Linked DNA regions of Homo sapiens: all the other regions are linked to region 2. Evidence: promoter capture Hi-C in 16 types of primary human blood cells and fetal thymus (Javierre and others, 2016). All regions are on one chromosome and are shown on one strand. Each heading gives the region's core, a stretch centred on a gene start or on the middle of the fragment in contact. The rest is flanking DNA. Distances are from core to core; before and after follow the strand shown.

Evidence for each region. Contacts are between HindIII fragments. The CHiCAGO score rates a contact against its expected background, and 5 or more counts as called.
Region 1: a fragment that was not itself captured here is called in contact with the fragment with the promoter of MCM7 in region 2 in 1 of 17 cell types (fetal thymus); the score reaches 5.2 in fetal thymus.
Region 3: the fragment with the promoter of SRRT here is called in contact with the fragment with the promoter of MCM7 in region 2 in 1 of 17 cell types (neutrophils); the score reaches 6.0 in neutrophils.

Annotation. Positions count from the first base shown.
Region 1 is chr7:99,559,560-99,563,966 of GRCh38, reverse strand. It overlaps ZNF655 (zinc finger protein 655), which reads right to left. Exons shown (of 3, transcript NM_138494.3): 2 at 3,272-3,434. The coding sequence starts at 3,407. Among named protein-coding and RNA genes, the nearest start is that of ZNF655, 3.1 kb to the right of the region's middle. The HindIII fragment of the contact is 1,706 bases long and covers 2,304-4,009 here.
Region 2 is chr7:100,099,665-100,103,531 of GRCh38, reverse strand. It overlaps MCM7 (minichromosome maintenance complex component 7), which reads left to right and starts at 2,135. Exons shown (of 15, transcript NM_005916.5): 1 at 2,135-2,268; 2 at 3,439-3,518; 3 at 3,779-3,867. The coding sequence starts at 2,238. It overlaps AP4M1 (adaptor related protein complex 4 subunit mu 1), which reads right to left and starts at 1,889. Exons shown (of 15, transcript NM_004722.4): 1 at 1,760-1,889; 2 at 1,564-1,652; 3 at 751-857; 4 at 572-668; 5 at 13-123. The coding sequence starts at 1,817. RefSeq lists enhancers at 1,811-1,860, 1,883-2,435, 2,781-2,940 and a silencer at 2,571-2,670. The HindIII fragment of the contact is 6,263 bases long and covers 1-3,867 here.
Region 3 is chr7:100,872,910-100,876,940 of GRCh38, reverse strand. It overlaps SRRT (serrate, RNA effector molecule), which reads right to left and starts at 1,838. Exons shown (of 20, transcript NM_015908.6): 1 at 1,613-1,838; 2 at 1,229-1,368. The coding sequence starts at 1,350. TRIP6 (thyroid hormone receptor interactor 6) reads right to left here. Exons shown (of 9, transcript NM_003302.3): 9 at 3,487-3,769. The coding sequence ends at 3,638. RefSeq lists a silencer at 1,357-1,586 and enhancers at 1,727-1,786, 1,997-2,046, 1,623-2,288, 2,289-2,953. The HindIII fragment of the contact is 10,507 bases long and covers 1-4,031 here.

The sequences.
Region 1 (4,407 bases), core at 1,907-4,406, 540 kb after region 2:
GACGGCAAGTGTTTCTCCAGAGAAAGCACTTGCCTGGGTATGACTCAGGGCCGGGCAGGAATTCACACTATGAATCCGGGTGGTGGGAAGGCGGAGAAGTATGCCTACAAAGATTAAAGAGCCAGGAATGGAAAACACACTAAAAACCGTCCCAGTGGGCAGCCTGCCTCCCCACAAATAAGAAGACCTTGAATCCTGAGCATAATCAGGGAGACAAAGCAATGCCCTGGATGCCACCAGCATAGACAAAGCCAACGGAAAAAAAAAAAAGAAAAGAAAATGCATGATTCAGTATTTACACACACAAAAAGAAGAGTGCAGAAGCAAGCAAGAAACTAAAGAAAAAGGAGGCTGGGTGCGGTGGCTCATGCCTGTAATTCCAGCACTTTGGGAGGCCAAGGAAGGTGGATCACTTGAGGTCAAGAGTTCGAGATCAGCCTGACCAGCATGGTGAAACCCCGTCTCTACTAAAAATACAAAATTAGGCGGGCGTGGTGGCCCATGCCTGTAATCCCAGCTACTTGGGAGGCTGAGGCAGGAGAATCGCTTGAACCTGGAAGGCAGAGGTTGTAGTGAGTTGAGATTGCACCACTGCACTCCAGCCTGGGCAACAAGAGTGAAACTCCATCTAAAAATAAAATAAAATAAAAAATATAATATAATATAAAAAATAAACTAAAGAAAAAGGAACAATGCTCACACCAAGGGAGCTGCCGACAAACCCCACTGATGCTTCCCAGCAGCACTACAGCTTGGCTAATCCCAGCTTCCCACTGTACCTTTCAAAATGACAAGGGAGAGACATGAGTTAAGCATTGACCCCACCTCAGCATGGGGTAAACATCTGAGATTTCTGCTGCCCTGGGTGTGGTTACGTGGGATTACCATTCTGGGTGACTCACTGAAATGTACTCACAGTGAGTCATGCCTTCAAATGACATCTCAAGTTCTGCCTGCTTGGAGATACATCTGGGGATCTTAAGGGGTGAGGGACTACTCAACAAGAAGGAATTTAGCCTGTCTTTTTAAATAAACGGCATTTCTTTTTCCTAGAAAAATGGGAAATTCTTCAATTCTCTAATACAGGGACACTGAGATAACAAAGAGGAAAGTGTCTGGTTGGAGGTTGGGAGGCCACCCTGGGGTCTCTCCTACAAAAATGGAAAAGAAAAGAACGGTGAGAAATCAAGCAAAGCACAAGAAAGTTTCCCTTTGCTAAAAGGGAAAAGATGCCCCACAATGGCCATAAACATGAACTGGGGATAAGGAGGAGAATGTCTCTTCTTGGCACCCCCAAACAAACGTTAATTACCCCTCCCGGAGAAGACGATGTGAAAGATAAGGATTCAGAGGTTCTAAGTCCTGGAATCTAAGCCACACTCTACAGACCTTCTCAGAGACCTTATACTTAGGAAGAAACAAGAAAGTAAAGAAATTCAAATAGATAAACCGAATAATAAGGAAGTCCTTACCCAGTGAGACCACGTTCCCATAATTCTCTAACATCACTTCTCTGTAGAGGTCCCTCTGAACAGGGTCCAGGTATCCCCATTCCTCTCGAGTAAGGTGCACAGCCACATCCTCGAATGTCACAAACTCCTGAAATAACACATCCTGGCTGCTCTGAGGAATGAGAACACTGTAGCACCATGGCCAGAGAATGAAGATCATAGAGAGGGTATCCACTGTGTACTTACGTTGAGGAGGAGGGAGAACAGATTAGAACCTACGGAATAAAGCCCATAACCCTTAAACATCTAATAAGCACCCATCACACAACCATGGACAAAGAGAAAACAGAGTTTGCTCATGGCACTGGGGAGATGGGAAGTTGGTTTATGTGAAGTCCAGGTCTCCGAAGAGGATCAATTCCCAAACTGGAGTCTGCTATTGAAAAAAATTCCAGGCAAGGTCTACAGATGGGATGAGAGAGAGGCCACACTCCATCAGTAGCAATAGTCCCTGAGGAAAAGCAGAGGGTTCCTCAGCTCACCTGGTACCTGGCTGTCAAGAGCGCAGCTGCCTGGTCTCCTGGGCTTCCCTCACGGGGAAGAGCAGGCACCTGAGGAACAGGTGGAGCTGAGGGAGGAGAAAGGAGTGAAGAGTGAGAGCAGCCCTTTCCCAGGGCTCCCTTTCAGAGGAGGCCTCTCCAGCCCAAGGGGTGTCAGCAGGACCCTCCTCAATACTCTAGTAAAACCAATGAACATTTTTCAGGTATTGGGTGTGTCTACTCTGCTTCGTCTCAGTACTTGCATGCCTTATGCGTGTTTTGACCTGTGATACAGGATTTTCTTAGGAAAGCTTGTATTTCACTTTATCTTCATCACATGACAGTCCTCTTACAGAAGAGTAAGACTATACCTGTTTTGCAGATGGGCAAAGCAAAGCATAAAGACTTGTGGGGACTTGTCCTGGGCTAGGGTTATTTAGCAGACTTCTGACCCTTTCCAGGCACTGTTCTAGACACTTGATCAGCGTTTCTCTTGTGAATGGGTGCTGTCTCAACCAGTGTGTAAGGCCCCCAAGAACAAGAAAGGGTCATCTGTTTCCTCGAAATCTTTTCCACAGTCCCACAATCCCCCACAGCACTCTACACATTGTGGCACTTGATCTGTGTGGGTGACACACAAGTTATTTCAGGCACTAGAGTTAACCACAGGCAATCTAAGACACAGCTCTTATAAAACAAAGGAAGAAAAAGACCAACCTACCTATACGATACAGCAAAGTGTGACTGCGTAGTCAAAATACAGTATATATACATTCATACAGGCATTGTGTTCAACCAAGGAATTAAATGGTTGCTTCCTTGACCAAATTTAGTCTAGTCACAAAACACTGCAGTTACAACAGAATGGATGGCAGGTGACAAAGCAAAGAAAAACTAAGTGAAGGGAACAGGGGAAAGAAAGGTCCTGAACCTAAGAGGAAGTGAGAGCCAGGAAAGGACTGTGAGATGTGGCAAAAGCAGCATATCTTAGAAATTATTCTGGATGTGAGAACTGGGATGAAGTGAAGGTTGCCTGAAGGAAAAACCACCACAGCGAGTAAGCAGCCATCACTCTGCTTATTTGAGAAAGATGAGCTATCCTTAATAAAGGGGCTCAGACTAGGACTGAACTGAGTCACATCTGCCCCCTCTTTCATTCCTCCCTCTAGGGACCATGTTCTTATTCCAGTTCTTGGCCTCTCTCAAACCAGGCCCAGGAGCCCCCTCGGGAGCCCCTCCGCACTCCCACTCTCCCAGACGGAAGTGCTTTCTCTGCCTTACCCCCAGTGAGTCCCTGTTCCATGTCGGTGTCCTGCACAAACTGAGGCTCTGGGGACAGACACTCAGACTGGGTCTCCAAAGACTGAAACTGGACCCTTGGTGACCCTGCTGCTTCCTGGGCTGGTATTTCCTCCATCACTGCTCTGGAGGACAATGACCATCACTGCAAGGTAAGATTAAGAGAAATTACTGTAATAAGTTAAAGCATTTCATCATTTTATATCGTCAGGACTTTGCAAAGGATCTTACACACTATGGATATTCAATAAAAATTAGTTGATAATGATTAACCACCCTAAATAAGTAACAGAAAAATGGGGCCAGGCGCAGTGGCCTGTAATCCCAGCACTTTGGGAGGCTGAGGCGGGAAGATCACTTGAGGTCAGGAGTTCAAGACCAGCCTGATCAACATGGTGCAACTTCTTCTCTACTAAAAATACAAAAATTAGCCAGCGTGGTGGTGCGGGTCTGTAATCCCAGCTATTCGGGAGGCTGAGGCAGGAGAATTGCTTGAATACAGAAGGCATACGTGGCAGTGAGCCAAGATTGCACCACTGCACTCCAACCTGGGCAACACAGTGAGACTCCGTCCCAAAAAAAAAAAAAAGAAAAAAAAGAAAAAGAAATATGGATATGCTTCAGCTTTAAATACTTAAGAACCAAATCATAGAAGAGTCTCTAATTTGGAATTTGTGGCATTAAAAAAATTAACACGGTACAATTTAATAGTGTAAAGCTTTCTGTGGAAACTTTAAAATATTTAAAATTGGCCACGTGCGGTGGCTCAAGCCTGTAATCCCAACAGTTTGGGAGGCACAGACGGGTGGATCCCTTAAGCTCAGGAGTTCCAGACCGTCCTGGACAACATGGTGAAACCCCGTCCCTACAAAAAAAAAAAAAAAAAAAAAAATTAGGTGGCCCAGGCCTGTAGTTCCAGCTACTCCAAAGGCCAAGGCAGGAGAATCGCTTGAGCTTGGGAGGTAGAGGCTGCAGTGAGCTATGACTGCGCCACTGCATTCCAGCCTGTATGACAGCGTGACAGCCCACCTCAAATAAACAAAACAAAATATTTAAAATTTACAATCGTCTTTGGAGGCTCAAGTTGGTGCCCAGAGAAAAATGCTAGTTATGATTGC
Region 2 (3,867 bases), core at 886-3,385:
CCCTCTACTGACCAAGCCAACGCTGCTGAGGTCAAAGAGGCTGAAGGGCTTGCTGACCACAGCTTCCGTCTGGATGAAATTCCTCAGCATCTCCGTGGATGTGGTCTGTACATAGCCATAGTCCTAGTGGTAAAGGAAGGACAGTCTGAGTGATCAGTGGAGGGAAGGGGTAAAGAGGGGGAGTGGGGCCAGGCATGGTGACTCACTCCTGTACTCTCAGCGCTTTGGAAGGCCGAGACGTAGGAGAATGGCTTGAGGCCATGAGTTCAAGACCAGCCTGGGCAACACAGTGAGACTCTAGTCTCTACAAAAAATAAACAATTAGCTAGGCACAGGGGAGGCTGGGGCAGGAGGACGGCTTGAGCCCAGGAGTTCCAGGCTGCAGTGAGCTATAACTGCACCACTGCAGTCCAGCCTGGGCAACAGAGCAAGACCCTGTCTCTAAAAGCAAAAAAAAAAAAAAAAAAAAAGGTAGACTTGGCCTCCTAACCACGGCATCCCACAGTAGAAGAGCAGATGTATCTTCAGGGGAATTGGGTAGGGGCCACAGAAGGGGATTGTTGATTCTCACCAGCACTTCATCCAGGAGTTCGTATACCAGAGCCACATTGCGGGAGATGGTCCCCTCGCCCAGGGAGCCACAGTAATCGCCCAGAAGGGTGGCCAACCTGAGGAAACACTTGGAGCGTGTATTTTCTCCTCCTCTCAGACCCCTCCTAGCTACCAGGTGCCCAGCCCAACCCTCCTCACCTGGAGAGCAGTTCTAGGAGGCTGAAGGGAGAAACGTTTTCTGAAGTTGTGACCACCAAATAGAGGCCGCTGTGTCTGATGTGAATGAAATGACGGCCATGGTGATGCTGAGACACAGGCAGGGAGAAGAGAGGCGTTAAAAAAAGGGAGGTGGAGTGATCAGAACCCAGGAGACCTGAGCTCGGATCCCGATGCCTCTTACTAGTCACAACAGCAGTGCCTTTGGGAGATACATGACATATGCCTGGGCCCAGCTTCCCAATGTGGAAAGGGGGTTAATTACACTAACTACCCCGAGTTGCTGAGGATGGAGTCACGCAGGGAGCTGGGCCTGGTGTGTTGCTGGCGCCCATTGACTCTTTTTTTTTTTTTCCCCACCCCCACCTACCCCGAGAGGGAGTCTCGCTCTGTCTCCCAGGCTGGAGTGCGGTGTCCGGATCTCGGCTCACTGCAACCTCTGCCTCTTGGATTCAAGCGATTCTCAAGCCTCAGCTTCCCGAGTAGATGGGATTACAGGCGCCCGCCACCACGCCCAGCTATGTTTTTTTTTTTTTTGTATTTTTAGTAGAGGCGGAGTTTCACCATGTTGGCCAGGCTGATTTCGAACTCCTGACCTCAGGTGATCCGCCCGCCTCGGTCTCCCAAAGTGCTGGGATTACAGGCGTGAGCCACCGCGCCGGGCCTCACGTTAGCTTTATTTGGCGGAATGCACCCCCCAAGTGGAATCTACCAATGAACCAGTCCTGGGAGGGAGCTGGCGCCCACCCGGCCCGACGGGACCCCGCTCCTCACCCGCCTCCCGCCACTGGTTACCATGACAACCGGGGACTCGTCTCCTGGCAGTCCCGTCAGCTTCCGGTAGAAGAGCTCGGCCACATCCCGGCCGCCACTGTCCCCGCGGACTGGCGGGTGGAAGGACTCAGTGAAGGATCCTGCGACACAGGCTGGCCCTGGGCGCCCCTCCCGCCCGGCCCCTCCGCCCCTTCCCAGCCCCAAGGGTCTAGGATACAGTCTTTGTAGATGAGCGGGTCCCCCTTGGAGGACAGAATGAAGAATTGGGAAATCATGGCCGTTCTGGAGAGTAGACAAGAAGACGGCGAAAGTCGGGCCTGCCCCGCCCTGCGGCCCCGGAACAAAAGAACGCGTGTGCGCTGGCCCTTTAAGAGCGATTCTCCTCCGCCCGCGCCAGCTCGGACCGCGGGAAACCCGGCGCCTGCACTACCCCGCCCGGAGATTCCCTTCCGACGCCCGCACCGCCTCCCCGTCACTCATTCTAGGCCCGCACGGTGATTGGCTTGCGGCTAGCGGGAGGTGAAGAAGGCCGCCTTGTCCGATTGGCCCGCACGCAGTGGCGCCGGTCACGTGGGGGGCGACGTTTCGCGCCAATTTCGGTTGGCCGGCCACAGTCCACCGCGCGGAGATTCTCAGCTTCCCCAGGAGCAAGACCTCTGAGCCCGCCAAGCGCGGCCGCACGGCCCTCGGCAGCGATGGCACTGAAGGACTACGCGCTAGAGAAGGGTACGGGTCTACGAGCCCGGGAGGGCGTCCTGCGCGGGGAGCCTCCCGGGGAACACCTGTTGGTGTGAGCTGGGGTCTTGGGGGACCGGGGTCGGCGGGTTCTGGGGTGCGCGAGGCCAGAGGCAGGGTCGAGCTGCGGCCTGGCTAAGGCCCACGGGGCCTGGGAAGCGTGCGGGGGGCCATCGATGTTGAAGAAAAGCTAGTAATCCCACCTGGTAAAGGTGTTAGGGTCGTGGGGTTGGGGGCTTGGGGGCGCGCTAACCCGGCTGGGGGCTGCACAGGGAAAAGTCGCGCCCAGGACCTCAGGAGAGTCTTAAGGGCTCTGGGCTCCCGTGCCCGCTTTCCTTCGCGCTTTTGGGCATTCCCAGGTTCCCGCGCCCTCCCCAGGCGCGCGTAGGCCCCGGGGGCGGGCAGGCCGGGGCCGCTGCGCGCCGGGATTGGCCGTTTGAGGCCGCCCTCCGAGCGGAAGTGGAGCCGGGCGGAAGTGGCGCGAGGAGGCTGGAGGGAGTGTCGTGTAAACAGTGTCCTTCCGCGCGGCGGCCGCGGAGAGAGCTGCGGCCCGGGGGGGCGTGCCTGGGATCCGGAGCTTCGCTCGGGCCCGGGAAAGGCGGCAGTGGGCTGGGATCGCGGTGTCTCTGGGTGTGATGGCCAATGGCTGGACTGGCTCCCGCCCTGGGCGGAGGAATCCCGAGCTGTGAAGCGGCTGGAATCCGGGCCCATGTGCTTCTTTGTTTACTAAGAGCGGAAGCGATGGCGGGAGCGGGGGTGGGGTGCGGTGGCGGGGTGCGGTGGCGGAGGTCCCGGTGAAATCAGGGGCTAAGGGGACCCAAAGAAGGCGGGGGATCATAGGGGTGGAAAGAAAGCTGAGAACCTTGAGACCGGAGTGTGAGGGGCCAACGGGGAAGGGCGCTAGAATTTTAAACTAAAGTAGGGACCGGAATTCCCCTGGGGAGATGTTGGATGGCCCTGTGCACTGCCACGGGCTCTTTATTCTTCGCTGGTTAGAAACAGACTTGTGAAAAAGAGTTATGCCCACTTTGGGGAGACTTCGGTAGGTTTATTTAAATGCTCATATTATTAATTAGTTCATAGGTCGTGTTTTAAGCGAAAATGGGTATCTAAGATTTGTCTTAAAGTTTGTGTCTTACGGTTTTACATTTCATGTTACAGAAAAGGTTAAGAAGTTCTTACAAGAGTTCTACCAGGATGATGAACTCGGGAAGAAGCAGTTCAAGTATGGGAACCAGTTGGTAAGTCTAAGATTGGGTAAAGGGAATGGGGAGCGGGGTGCTTAAGGAGCCATAAGCAGCAGCTTGGCTTGTTTTATTAAAGACATAACAATTAGAGGGTTTGAGGGCTGAAAAGCGAGTATCGCTCTGTGTGGCGCTGCGTTCTCCCCTGTGGATGCCCAGAGCCTGTGCTGAGTTCTCAGTGATGCATTTTCACATATGAACACTGGTGAGCAAAGTGAATGTGGCTCTGAGGTGTTTCTGTCTCTTCCCCACTTGAGGTTCGGCTGGCTCATCGGGAACAGGTGGCTCTGTATGTGGACCTGGACGACGTAGCCGAGGATGACCCCGAGTTGGTGGACTCAATTTG
Region 3 (4,031 bases), core at 589-3,088, 770 kb before region 2:
GCTAAAATCACACGTTATGTCCACAACTCCAAGCTGTTCATGTCACTCGTGTCTGGGGAATTCCCACTCATCTTTCCAAGTCTAGCCAAGTGTCACTTTCCAGTGGGTCCCTGACACACAACCTCCAGCACCGCTCCCCTCCTTTAGAGATCTGTTCCCTCAATGCTTACCCTCTTTATAACTTCCACTATATATACTCATTTACAGAATACATCCACTGCCATTCTGATCCCCCATGCCAAGCTCACTGTAACACCCTAAGGTCAATAACCACATCTTATAATCAATCCAATCAGCACCGCCCTATGAACTCTGAGATTTTAGGCAAAACAGTGACAAGAAACCTAATCATATATTGTCAGGGAAATAATCTGACGACCTCTCCAGTCAGATCAACTCTATATTATTATTTTTCTGAAGCAATCCTCCTAAAATATAATTTACAACCTGGGCAACAGAGCAAGACGCTGTCTCTACAAAAAATAATTTTAGACCAAGCACTGGCTCATGCCTGTAATCCCAGCACTTTGGGAGGTCGAGCTGGGTGGATTACCTAAAGTCGAGAGTTCCAAACCAGCCTAGCCAACATGGTGAAACCCCGTCTCTACTAAAAATACAAAAATTAGACGGGCGTGGTGGCAGGTGCCTGTAATCCCAGCTACTCGGGAGGCTGAGGCAGGAGAATTACTTGAACCCCAGAGGCGAAGGTTGCAGTGAGCCAAGATTGCGCCATTGCACTCCAGCCTGGGCGACAGGGCAAGACTCTGTCTCGAAATAACAATAATAATTTTTAAAAGTTAGGCGGGCGTGATGGCCTCCCCCTGGAGTCCCAGCTTCTCAAGAGGCTGAGGCGGGAGGCTCGGTTGAGCCCGGGAGGTGGAGGCTGCTACGACTGCATCAATGCACTCCAGCCAGGGCAGCAGAACAAGACCCCATCTCAATAACAAAACAAAAAAAAGCAAAAAAGCACGCTTTTCGTGCATGTATAAACAGTGCTTCTTCATACTCAAACTCTTAGCTCTATAGCTCTGATCTGCAGAGAATTTCAAAAACCAAGCCACAGCTAGTTATTTGGCCAACAGCAAATAGGCTGAACCACAGAAAACGGTCCAATGAGCCATTTCATAGGATTCGCCCTCATAAAAATTACAAGGGGGAGAAAGAAAAGCGACGCGGGTGGAGTGAAACGGCATGAAACGGGGACAAGATGAAGTTAAAAACGGCTCACCTGTCATTCCAATCGTCCCCTCGACGTCTTTCATCTCTCTCGCGGGAACGGTCGTAGTCGCTGCGCTCTCTTCTGAACTTGTCCCTGCGCCTTCGATCGTACTCGTCATCACTGTCACCCATGGCACGGTCTGAGGGGGCCTGGGGACCGGGGAGAGGCGGTAGGAGTGGTGCAAAAGGACGAGCGGAGGAAGGGACCGTCCCTCGCGGGCAGCTCGCCCGCTTCCCTCCCGCCAAGGCCAGCCCTCCGCGGCCCCCACCATCCTAGGCCTGAGAACGCGGCTCCAACACCTCCACTCGCCCCGAGTTTCTCCGCGCCCGCCCCCGTGGACCCCGGTTCCTCTCCCGCCCCAGCGGGGCCCCCCAGGCTCCTCCCCTCCCCCACCTTGGTGCGGCCGCGGCCGTTGGACTCGCGCTCGGACGGGCTAGATTTCAGGGCGACCTGGGTCGCGGGCGCGCGACGAGGACTTCGAGGAGGGCGAGACGGAGACGGAGCTCTTGAGTAGAGGGCCGAAGAGAGGCGAACAAAAGTGGGACAACCGGGGATGGGCAGTAGCGCGCGCAGCCCGCGCTGCGCCTGCGTCACCCACGCCTCCGAGGCACAAAGCTCCACCCTCGCGGCCGGAACTGGAACTAACAAACCGAGCGCGAAGGGCGGGGAGAGCAGGGCGTGATGGGAAAGGGGCGGGGATCTCGCAAGTCTCGCGCGGCTTTTCGAGACGATAACGGCTCGAGCGTTAGGAACTACGGGACCTCGGCTGGGCCAAGCGCGGCCTCGGGAGGCGAACAAGCCCTCTGGGCGCGAAGGGAGAGCGGAAGTCGAGGATCGCGCGACCCCAGATGTGTCGGGGTCCTAAGACGGTTCTCATCCAGCCATGTTCCCCCCACGGGCCTCCTGACCTCACCGGGGGTGATTTCGTCCCCTCCTCGGGCAGGGCGTGGGCTTGGGAAGCGCGGGCGCTTAGGGGATGGAAGGTGGAAGCAACCATTTTAAAGCATCGTATCCCACCATTTTCTGCTCCAAATATCCAGCCAAAATTGGGTGCCACAGTGCGCACTAAATGCAAAGTCCGCCGTTCCTGCTTTTCCTCGACAAAGACGCCCCGTCTTTAAGTAAAATTGGCAGATCTCAGTCTTAACCCCGCTCAGTATTTGGATGAAATAGGCTGTAAGTTAACGCCCTAAACAGAGTATGGACCGCCCAGATTCAATGGATTACCACCCCCGGGAGTAACACCAAGGCCCCTCTCAGTGAATTGAGTGTGAGACTTAATAGGAAGACCAGCTGAGATGGCTCACGCCTGCAATCCCAGCGCTTTGGGAGGCCGACGTGGGAGAATCACTTGAGCCCAGGAGTTGGAGACCTGCCTGGGCAACATAGCAAGGCCCCTTTACAGAATATTTAGGGCCAGGCACATTGGCTCACACCTGTGATCCCAGCACTTGGGAAGGTCGAGGAGGGAGGACTTAAGCCCAAGAGTTCAGGACTAGCCTGGGCAACATAGCAAGATCCCATCTACACACAAAAAAATAATAACTGGGCTTGGTGGGATGCCCCTGTGGTCCTAGCTACTGGGGAGGCTAAGCCAGGAGGACTGTTTGAGCCCAGGAGTTCAGGGCTGCAGTGAGCCTTGATTGCACCACTGCACTCTAGCCTGGGGAACAGAGTGAGGCCCTGTCTCAAAATAGATACATAGAGGAAATCTTGCCTCCTCCCTGAGGCGTGCTTGCTCCCAGCACTGAGAGGAGGGTAGTGACGGATTACAAGAGTTGTCAAAAAAAACTGGACCTGAGTCAAAAAGACCCAGGTTCCACCATTTAAGAACCATGCAATCTGGGGGAGTCACCTCTCAGCTCTGACATCCTCACATGTAAAAATGCAGACAGTGGCCAAGGGCGGTGGCTCACGCCTGTAATCCCAGCACTTTGGTTGGGTGAAGCGGGCAGATCACTTGAGGTCAGGAGTTCAAGACCACCCTGACCAAGGTGGTGAAACCCCGTCTCTACTAAAAATACAAAATTAGCCAGACGTGGTGGCGGGCGCCTGTAATCCCAGCTACTCAAGAGGCTGAGGCAAGAGAATCACTTGAACCTGGGAGGCAGAGGTTGCAGTGAGCCGAGATGGCACCACTGCATTCCAGCCTGGGTGACAGAGCCAGACTCCGTCTCAAAAAAAAAAGAAAAAAAATGCAGGCAGTAACAATGACTGGGCCTGTAATGGGCTACTGGGAGAATCAGATGAGACAACAGACTTGGAAGTGTTTTGTAAACTCGAGGGATTATTATTTCTTGATTGGAGAAAGAGAAGACAGCATTTGGTGACAAAGTCATACAGGTGGATGTCAGGGAGAGTGATCAATCAAAGGATGGGAACTGGAACTGAGAACCCAGCAGGTACTTCTAGGAAGACTCAGCAGTCAGTGGTGACGGTGGCTGAGAGCTCCTGGATGCGCCAGGCGCTGCAGGCCTTGCACAAGATGTGCCCATCCAGCGGGTAGCAGCCCTGACACTCGCCCTCAGAGGAGAGCAGCAGCCCACACTCCTGTTGAAAAAGAAGCAACAATTGGCCGGGCGCGATGGCTCACGCCTGTAATCCCAGCACTTTGAGAAGCCGAGGCAGGAGGATCACAAGGTCAGGAGTTCAAGACCAGCCTGGCCAATATGGTGAAACCCTGTCTCTACTAAAAATACAAAAATTAGCCAGGCATGGTGGCCAGCACCTGTAATCCCAGCTACTCAGGAGGCTGAGGCAGGAGAATCACTTGAACCCGGGAGGTGGAGGTTGCAGTGAGCCAAGATTGTGC